Regions from separate parts of the Homo sapiens genome. Here all the other regions are linked to region 1. The links are contacts of gene promoters, found by promoter capture Hi-C in blood cells and fetal thymus (Javierre and others, 2016). All regions are on one chromosome and are shown on one strand. The core of a region is centred on a gene start or on the middle of the fragment in contact, and the rest is flanking DNA. Distances in the headings are between cores, read along the strand shown. Region 1 holds the start of OR5C1 (olfactory receptor family 5 subfamily C member 1). Region 2 overlaps NDUFA8 (NADH:ubiquinone oxidoreductase subunit A8). Region 3 has its middle 7.2 kb from the start of MIR4478.

What was found. Contacts are between HindIII fragments. The CHiCAGO score rates a contact against its expected background, and 5 or more counts as called.
Region 2: a fragment that was not itself captured here is called in contact with the fragment with the promoter of OR5C1 in region 1 in 1 of 17 cell types (M0 macrophages); the score reaches 7.1 in M0 macrophages.
Region 3: a contact is called between a fragment that was not itself captured here and the fragment with the promoter of OR5C1 in region 1, in 4 of 17 cell types (activated CD4 T cells, naive B cells, M0 macrophages and 1 more). The highest score is 6.5, in activated CD4 T cells.

The regions. Positions count from the first base shown.
Region 1 is chr9:122,787,375-122,790,394 of GRCh38, forward strand. It overlaps OR5C1 (olfactory receptor family 5 subfamily C member 1), which reads left to right and starts at 1,559. Exons shown (of 1, transcript NM_001001923.1): 1 at 1,559-2,521. The coding sequence starts at 1,559. The coding sequence ends at 2,521. The HindIII fragment of the contact is 2,532 bases long and covers 141-2,672 here.
Region 2 is chr9:122,144,438-122,147,137 of GRCh38, forward strand. All of the region lies in intron 3 of NDUFA8 (NADH:ubiquinone oxidoreductase subunit A8), which reads right to left. Among named protein-coding and RNA genes, the nearest start is that of NDUFA8, 14 kb to the right of the region's middle. The HindIII fragment of the contact is 1,481 bases long and covers 652-2,132 here.
Region 3 is chr9:122,125,839-122,128,861 of GRCh38, forward strand. No RefSeq gene overlaps it. Among named protein-coding and RNA genes, the nearest start is that of MIR4478, 7.2 kb to the left of the region's middle. RefSeq lists enhancers at 1-71, 72-837, 838-1,604, 1,605-2,370. The HindIII fragment of the contact is 5,201 bases long and covers 1-3,023 here.

The sequences.
Region 1 (3,020 bases), core at 309-2,808:
TTGCATTTTCTGGGAATTATACTACTTTTGATTGCCATAAAGTTGCTTCCTTCCAGTTTGGAGCCAGAGCATCCAGTTCAATTTATTTCCATTCGCAGGGCCTTTGTTAAATGCCTGCGTGTGCTAGGCCCTGTGTGAGAAGCTTTACATGCATTATCTCATCGAATCCTTGCAGCTTTCCCCCATTATCCAGATGAGAACATTGAGGCTCAGAGAGGCCAAGAATTCAGCTCAGGAATATATTCACATTTTCTGTTCTTTCTACTCCCCACTGTTTTCGCAAGATACCAGGCTACTCCTTTCTCCGATCTTACTCCAAAGGAAAGATGTCCCTACTAGCAAACCTCAAAAGCCATGGCCAGGTGCCCGTTGGATCTGAAGATTATTTCTGCTCATTCCACTGTCTCTTTTCTTACCTGGAAAACTGGAGAGGAGAATGCATATAGAGTCACAAAGTTTTCAATCATTGGCTGGACACTAAATATCATCCCATTCATTCATTTAACAAATCTTTTTTGAGCACCAGCTATGTGCTAGGCAATGCTCTCAGTGCTGTAGACACAAAAGTGAATAAGAGGGACAAGACCCCTGTGGGTGTGGTGGAGCATGCCTATAATCCCAGCTGCTTGGGAGGCTGAGGTGGGAGGAGGATCACTTAAGCCCAAGAATTTTAGTTCAGCCTGGGCAACATAGTGAGACCTTGTGTCTCTTTAAAAAAAAAAAAAAAAAGGCTGGGCGTGGTGGCTCACACCTGTAATCCCAACACTTTGGGAAGCTGGGGCAGGCAGACTTGAGATCAGGAGTTGAAGACCAGCCTGACCACCAACATGGTGAAACCCTACCTCTACTTAAAAAATACAAAAATTAGCCGGGCATGGTGGCGGGCACCTGTAGTCCCAGCTACTCGGGAGGCTGAGGTAGGAGAGTCACTTGAACCCAGGAGGCGGAGGTTGCAGTGACCCAAGATTGCACCACTGCACGCCAGCCTGGGCAACAAAACAAGACTCCATCTCAAAAAAAAGAAAAGAAAAGAAAAGAAAAAAGAAAAAAAGACGGGCCGGGTACAGTGGCTCATGCCTGTAATCCCAGCACTTCAGGAGGCTGAGGTGGGCGGATCACCTGAAGTTGGGAGTTCGAGACCAGCCTGACCAACATGGAGAAACTCCATCTCTACTAAAAATATAAAATTAGCCAGGCACGGTGGCACATGCCTATAATCCCAGCTACTTGGGAGGCTGAGGCAGGAGAATCGCTTGAACCCAGAAGGCGGAGGTTGTGGTGAGCTGAGATCACACCTTTGCACGCCAGCCTGGGTAACAAGAGCAAAACTCCATCTCAAAAACAAAAAAAGGCTTCTGCAATGACTTCTAAGAGTTAGAAACAGGTTTTGAGAGGTTACGTGGCTTGCTCAAGGTCACAGCAATTTTGTTGCACAGGTGAGCTGAAACCCAAGCCTACCTAACTCCCAGTACAGGATGCTTTCTTCTCCCTGGCCATGGCCTTGCCATTGCTCTTATCTCCCTCCTGCTTTGCCTCTTCTCAGTCTCTGTCCAGTAGGATGAACTCAGAGAACCTCACCCGGGCCGCGGTTGCCCCTGCTGAATTCGTCCTCCTGGGCATCACAAATCGCTGGGACCTGCGTGTGGCCCTCTTCCTGACCTGCCTGCCTGTCTACCTGGTGAGCCTGCTGGGAAACATGGGCATGGCGCTGCTGATCCGCATGGATGCCCGGCTCCACACACCTATGTACTTCTTCCTGGCCAACCTCTCCCTGCTGGATGCCTGCTATTCCTCCGCCATCGGCCCCAAGATGCTAGTGGACCTGCTGCTGCCCCGAGCCACCATCCCTTACACAGCCTGTGCCCTCCAGATGTTTGTCTTTGCAGGTCTGGCTGATACTGAGTGTTGCTTGCTGGCAGCCATGGCCTATGACCGCTACGTGGCCATCAGAAACCCACTTCTCTATACAACAGCTATGTCGCAGCGTCTATGCCTGGCCTTGCTGGGAGCATCAGGCCTGGGTGGGGCAGTGAGTGCCTTTGTTCACACAACCCTCACCTTCCGCCTGAGCTTCTGCCGCTCCCGGAAGATCAATAGCTTCTTCTGCGATATCCCTCCACTGCTGGCCATCTCGTGCAGTGACACCAGTCTCAATGAACTCCTTCTCTTCGCCATCTGTGGCTTCATCCAGACAGCCACGGTGTTAGCTATCACGGTGTCTTATGGCTTCATCGCTGGGGCTGTGATCCACATGCGCTCGGTCGAGGGCAGTCGGCGAGCAGCCTCCACCGGTGGTTCCCACCTCACAGCCGTGGCCATGATGTACGGGACACTCATTTTCATGTACCTGCGCCCCAGCTCCAGCTATGCCCTGGACACTGACAAGATGGCCTCTGTGTTCTATACCCTGGTCATCCCGTCTCTCAACCCACTCATCTACAGCCTCCGCAATAAGGAGGTCAAGGAGGCCCTCAGGCAGACCTGGAGCCGATTCCACTGTCCAGGGCAGGGGTCCCAGTGATTGGTCCAGGGAGGCTGGGTAGGTCTGACTATGAGGGGATGAGGAAGGTCGGGGCCTCTTTCTGGCCCCGTCACTGTCGGTAAAGATGGGATGTTCCTCTGGCTTGGATGTCTCATGTCATTGTTTAAGGGACAGTAAAGAGGGAAATGAAAGCTTATAGCAGGGAGAAAAAGATTTGGGGTTCATCTAGGGCTAGACCTAGAGCCAGACGCTAGACCAGGCTAATGTTTCTGTTGCACTGCCTCAGGTTCTTCAACATTCAAAACATTCTTCAATATTCAGCTGGGTGCAGTGGCTCATGCCTGTAACCCCAGCACTTTGGGAGGCCAAGGCAGGAGTTCAAGACCAGCCTGGGCAACACAGGGAGACCCCCCCACCATCTCTACAAAAAAAAAAAATTGTTAAAAATAAGCTGGGCATGATGGCATACTATGCAGTCACAAAAAAGAAAGAGATGATATCCTTTTCAGGGACGTGGATGGCTCTGGAGACCATTTTC
Region 2 (2,700 bases), core at 142-2,641, 640 kb before region 1:
CATCAATGCGCCTCCTGGTGTCTCCTCATTGCTCCCGCTGCTACAACTGCTCCCCGACTTAAATTCCCAGCAAATCACATTCAGACGTATTTAATCATTGAACAAACACTCAGGAAAGCCTACTTTATGTCATTCCATGTGGTAGAAACTAGGGATACAGAAGGGAACAAGATACTGTCCTCAAGGGGATCACAGTCTAGTGAGGGAGAAAGCCAGGAATAACAACCAAGATTTCCAAATCACCCTGATGGCTAATGGCAATGATGGAGACAGGAACTGCCTCTATAGGAGCAAGGACTGTGCACATCTAACCCATCCTGAAGGCTGGGGGTCTGGAATATTTTTAAGGAGGTAAGACTTAGCTTAAAGTCTGAGCAGGAGCCAGTCAGAAAGGCAAGGGAGGAAAAGACATTCCAAGGAAAGACTACATATGAAGATAGGCAGGCATGTCTTCAGAATGGCTGAATCAAAGGCTGCATGAAGAATGGAGGGAGATGAAGCATCTCACCAAGAACTTATTGCTAGAAATGATGCTGAGCACATGATTCCATTCCATTTTCACTCTTAGGAGGTCATTCTGCAGGGGCTCACTGAGGCCACCTAGCTAATAGTGGAAGAAATTGTACACAAAGCCAGATATGCCTACTCCAAAGCTTGTGCTTCTTAATACCACACTACAGTGGTGGACAGGCCAGATGATAAAGGGTATTAAATGATATGCAAAGGTGTTTGCGTTTTAACCTGACGGTTAACAGGTGCCACTGAAGCACGGCAGTAACTAAATCCCATCTCTGTAGGCTGGGAAGTGTGAAAGCTAAAGTGGAGAGAGGCAAGACCCAAATTGGGGAGCTGAGCCAATAAGCCAGGAGAGTGGTGAAGTACTAAACTGCAACAGGGAGAGAGATAATTTACACTCACAGTATCCCCTGATGGTCACAAAAATCTCAACTGGAAAGCCAGCAGAAACTGCTGTCATTTTAAAGATAAAGAAATAGGCCCAGAGAAGTAAGAAGACATAAGGCCACAGCTGTCAGCAGTCTTCTGATTATTCTTCTACTGGGCTGAACTCTTAAGTCACCTCATGTAAAATGACCAGATTCATCTTCCTAGATGTATAAATTCAGAAACCTTTTATTGGGAACAGAGCTTTTGTGTATACAATCACCCAATTATTATTATAACCACCTTATGAGGCATTATTATCTCTAGTGCACAGATGAAGACCAGGGAGGTTGGCATGCCTAAGATAAGATACACACTAATGTCAGAGCTAAAGCTGGAACCTAAGTCTTCAAGTCTACTAGTTTCGTTTGTTTGCTTTTGAAAGTTATCCCACCGCCCTGTCATAAGTACAGATGGTTCCTAATGATCCACTAGTGGTTCCTTGGTATTTGCAGCTCCTTTAAGGAATTAAAGACATTTATGAAATTGGCTGGGCACAGTGGCTCATGCCTGTAATCCCCGCACTCTGGGAGGCTGAGGCAGGTGGATCACTTGAGGTCAGAGTTCAAGACCAGCCCAGGCAACATGGTGAAACCCCTTCTCTACTAAAAATACAAAATTTAGCTGGCCATGGTGGCGGGTGCCTGTAATCCCAGCTACTCAAGAGGCTGAGGCAGAATTGCTTGAACCCGGAAGGCACTGGTTGCAGTGAGCAGAGATCGTGGCACTGTACTCCAGCCTGGGTGACAGAGTGAGACTCCACTTCAAAAAGAAAAACAAAAAAAATGTTGCCCAGGCTAGTCCTGAACTCGTGAGCTCAAGCGATCCTCCTGCCTCAGCCTCCCAAAGTGCTAGAATTGCAGGTGTGAGCCATGGCACCTGATCGAGAAATACACTTTTGAAAAGAGTTAAGAGAATTTTTTTTTTATCTCACAGAGTTTTAAAAAATGTTAATACAAAGATTCAAGAATAAATATGCTTTCTTACTAGCATGACTTGTTATTTCTTCTTTCATAAGTCAGAAATGAGAAAAGGTAGTTTTATTTGTTACATGTATAAGTTCTACCACTTTCCAATCTAGAATTATCAACTATTTAAAATAATATGTTCAGTACATCAAAAAGTATCTGAAAATAATCAAGCCAGATATAAAAGACAAAAAAATTGCTAAGTTATTACTCATGACACCAAGCTTATAATCCAACCATTCACAGATGCTATACACAAAGAGAAGGGAACTAGACCGGGTATGGTGACCTGTAATCCCATCACACTGGGAGGCTAAGGTGGGAGGACTGCTTGAGCTCAGGATCTCAAGACCAGACTGGGTAATATAGCAAAATCCTGTCTCTACTAAAATACAAAAATTAGTTGGGCATGGTGGCCTGTGCCTGTAGTCCCAGCTACTTGGGAGGCTGAGGTGGGAGAATCACCTGTGCCCAGGAAGTCAAGGCTGCAGTGAGCTGTGATCGCACCACTGCATTCCAGCCTAGGAGAGAGAGTAAGACCTGAGTTTTTTCCTCCATGCCTTGCTACCTGTGCTGCTCCACAGGGAACAGAGGGAGCTGAGGCTGAAGAAGCAGGGATGGGTCAGATCATAAAGGGCCTGCATGCCATGTTATGGAGAAGATGCTTTATCTCACCAGCAATGGAGAGTCCCCGTACAGTTTTTAAAAACACAGTGACATAAGATTTGTTTTCCACACAGATCACTCTTCTTGTGGAGGTGTAATTTAATCCTCAATTCTTCAATTTCAT
Region 3 (3,023 bases), core at 196-2,695, 660 kb before region 1:
CCACCATCACCATACAACAAGGACAGGGAGACTATACCCCCATATCACAGTGGAGGTGTCCGTTTGATCAGCCTTGAGCTGGACACCAGAGCTTCCTGGTGACTCACCGGCAGCCCCCAGGCTGGTCAGGCCCGGGAGAAGGACGCCAGTGTACCCTGCCTGCTGCTGTACCTGCAGGACATGCCTGGACACCAGCGTGCTCTGGGAGGGAGCTGTCCTGTTGCCTGCGGTGGTGGGGACAGGGGAAGGCTGCTCTGAGCTGTACTTGGGATGCGTCTGGGAAGACAGGACGGGCGTGCCAGCAAGAGAACAGCATGTGCAGGGCAGGGAGGTGTGAGGGCGCAGCCTGGGCAGCCAAGGGGCCTGAGCCGCAGGATAAGTGGATCTGGTGGCATGCGGGAGGCGGCAGAGGCAGCGGGCAGGGAGGGGCCTCTCTCCCCAGCAGCTTGGTTGCGGGGACGAGCCAAGCCACCCCATGCTCACAGCCAAGGCAGGGGTCTTGAGACCCGCCTCATACCTCTGTGACCTCCAAGGAGCAGACGGTCCCCGTTACTGCCCCTGCTGTACCCAGGGACCCAGGAACGCAGGGAATGTGAAGCTGGAGGGGGAGGGACAGCGACTGACATTCTAGACCGGTGATGCACCCAGATAGAGGCCTAGAGCGAGGAGAGGAAGTGCGGGGCACAGAATAAGTAGAGAGAGAACAGAGGGAGAAAGAGACACCGGGAGGGGAAGGGAGACAGAGACGGGGAGTCGGAGGAGGGAGCGGAGAGAACCGAGGGAAGGGGTTGCCAGGAGGAGGGGTAGGGAGAACTTTCTTGGCCTCCCTGCTCGCGCCCTCCCGGGCAATCAGGCCGGCAGGAGGCAGGTGGTCCGGGGCAGACAATGGCGCGGAGGAGTGCGGAACCTGGGACTAAATTTGGCGTTGCCTTTGCAGGGCGCGGGGCGCCCGTTCATCTCGATGCAAAGGAGAGACGAAATGAATATGCAGCGCGGGCTGTAATTGGGCCGCCGCGGCCGCCGCCGCCGCCGCCGCACTATAATTTTCCAAACAGGATCTTGCAATCAGGGCCTTATTCATTAGCGCATAAACAATTTTGTTTCTCGGCACTCGAGCCTGTCAATCACGCGGAGAGGGAACATCTTGGCCGGAGGCGCGGGCCACCGTGCGCGCTCCCACGCGCGCCCCCTCGAGCGCCGCCAGGTGGCTTTGTGTCCGGGAGGCCCTTGGGTGCTGGGGTGGAGGGGGCCCGGGGCACGCTTCGGGGTCCACACCCCAGCCCGGCAGATGGGGGTGGGCGGCCTGAGAGAACACAGGTTTGGGGGCCCACCGCCCCGGCTTGCAATTCTGCTTCTGACCTCACCAGCTCTGCCCTTGGGCAACCCCCCTTCTCCTCCCCAGCCTCAGTTTGCCCTCTGTAAGATGTGCTCAGCGCACTCACCCCGCAGAACTAGAGGGGGCATCGGGTGGAATAATGGATGCTTTGGGTGCTGAGGCTGGGGGGTGGGGTGCTGAGGAGGGGGCCTTCTAGCTCCTTTTATTAAAGGAGGGGATCAGAGGCCCACAGAGAGCTTCTCATCCCATCACCACCCCCACCCCTCTAGGACGGCTCCTGCGACTCTGTCTAGGGAGGCCTCAGAGTGGTTCTCTAAGAGCTGGGCTGGGCACAGCCCTGGGCTCACCCACACGCTGGGGTGGGCACGCATGCGTGATCTCCCGTGCTGGCTCCCAGGAGGGCTGTGCACGCGGGGGCACCTATAACTCTACAAGCCCATGTGTGACTGTGCCACAGGCTTTGTGCCTATGTGTGTGTGTGGGGGCGGGGGCGCTGTGACTGTGTGTTCAGCTACTTGGCTGCTGGTGAGATCATGGAGCTGAGTGTGGCTGCCTAGCAGTAGCCAGGTGACAAGGACTGAAGGGGGCTGGTGAACAGAACTGTGGGGTCTTTGGGGCCCAGGTGACCTGGCAAGAACTGCAGAGAGGGCAGGAAGCCCTGAAGGGCTGTGTCTTTCAGGACAGATGACATCTCTGTCTTCTCCGCCTCCTCCCTGGCGACCCCTCCATCAGCCCCATGTCCCCAGCACAGTCATCCAGGGTGCCCAGGCTGGGGAGATAAGCAGCCTGGTTTTGCCCTACTGCCAGGCCTTGCAGTGGGGAGGGTTCACCTTCCCCACCTCTCTGACCCCACCCCCAGCCCCCTCAGTGCCTCCCTGACAGCACCAAGACTCAGCCCCATGCTCCCTCCATCAGGGAAGCCTAAAGGCCTCTGGAATTTCAGGGCCAAATGTTCTAATCAGCTCAGATTTACAGAGATCACAGCAGGTCAGAGCTGGATAGACCCATTGCATGGATGAAGAAACAGAGGCCTAGGACTGGAAACAGGAACGATACAGGCCTGGGACCCCCCCACCCCCAGCAAGTGGGGAGCAGAGCTAGGATCTGAACTCCTGTCTCTGGCCCCAAAGCAGGGGGCAAGGACCTGACTTCCCGAAGACACACACCGCCGACAAGCGTAAGCACCAGCAGACCACGGAGGCCTCCCGCAACCCGCCATGCCCCTCTCCTGCCCCCACCCCGGCATCCTCCTCCTCTGCTGTGCCCAACCCCTGCCCCCTCCACAGTCCCCACTCCACACAGAGACAAAGAATTTGAGGATGTGCTGGCAGCCAACTGACAGGCCATCAGTCTCTACCCAGACACCCTCTTCACAGTTCTAGCCCCAGCCCGGATGCCACCCCACCCGCTAGTCACCCCCAGCACCGGGCCAGGAAGGGAGGCGGCCCGGGAAGGGGCTGTGGGGGAAGGCACGGAGTCCGGAAGCCCAGAGGAACAGTCTTCAACCTGTGAATCCGGCCGCGCCTGGCCCTGCAGCCTCCCCGGCCCGGCAGCCTCCCTGCTCCTGCGTGTCCCAATGCATGATGCACAGCTGACCCCTGCCTGTGAGGGACCCAGGCCATCTGTGAGGCAGTTGCCATGAGTGACTCCTGGTGAACAGCCCATTGGCATCTCCAAGTGCTGGGCA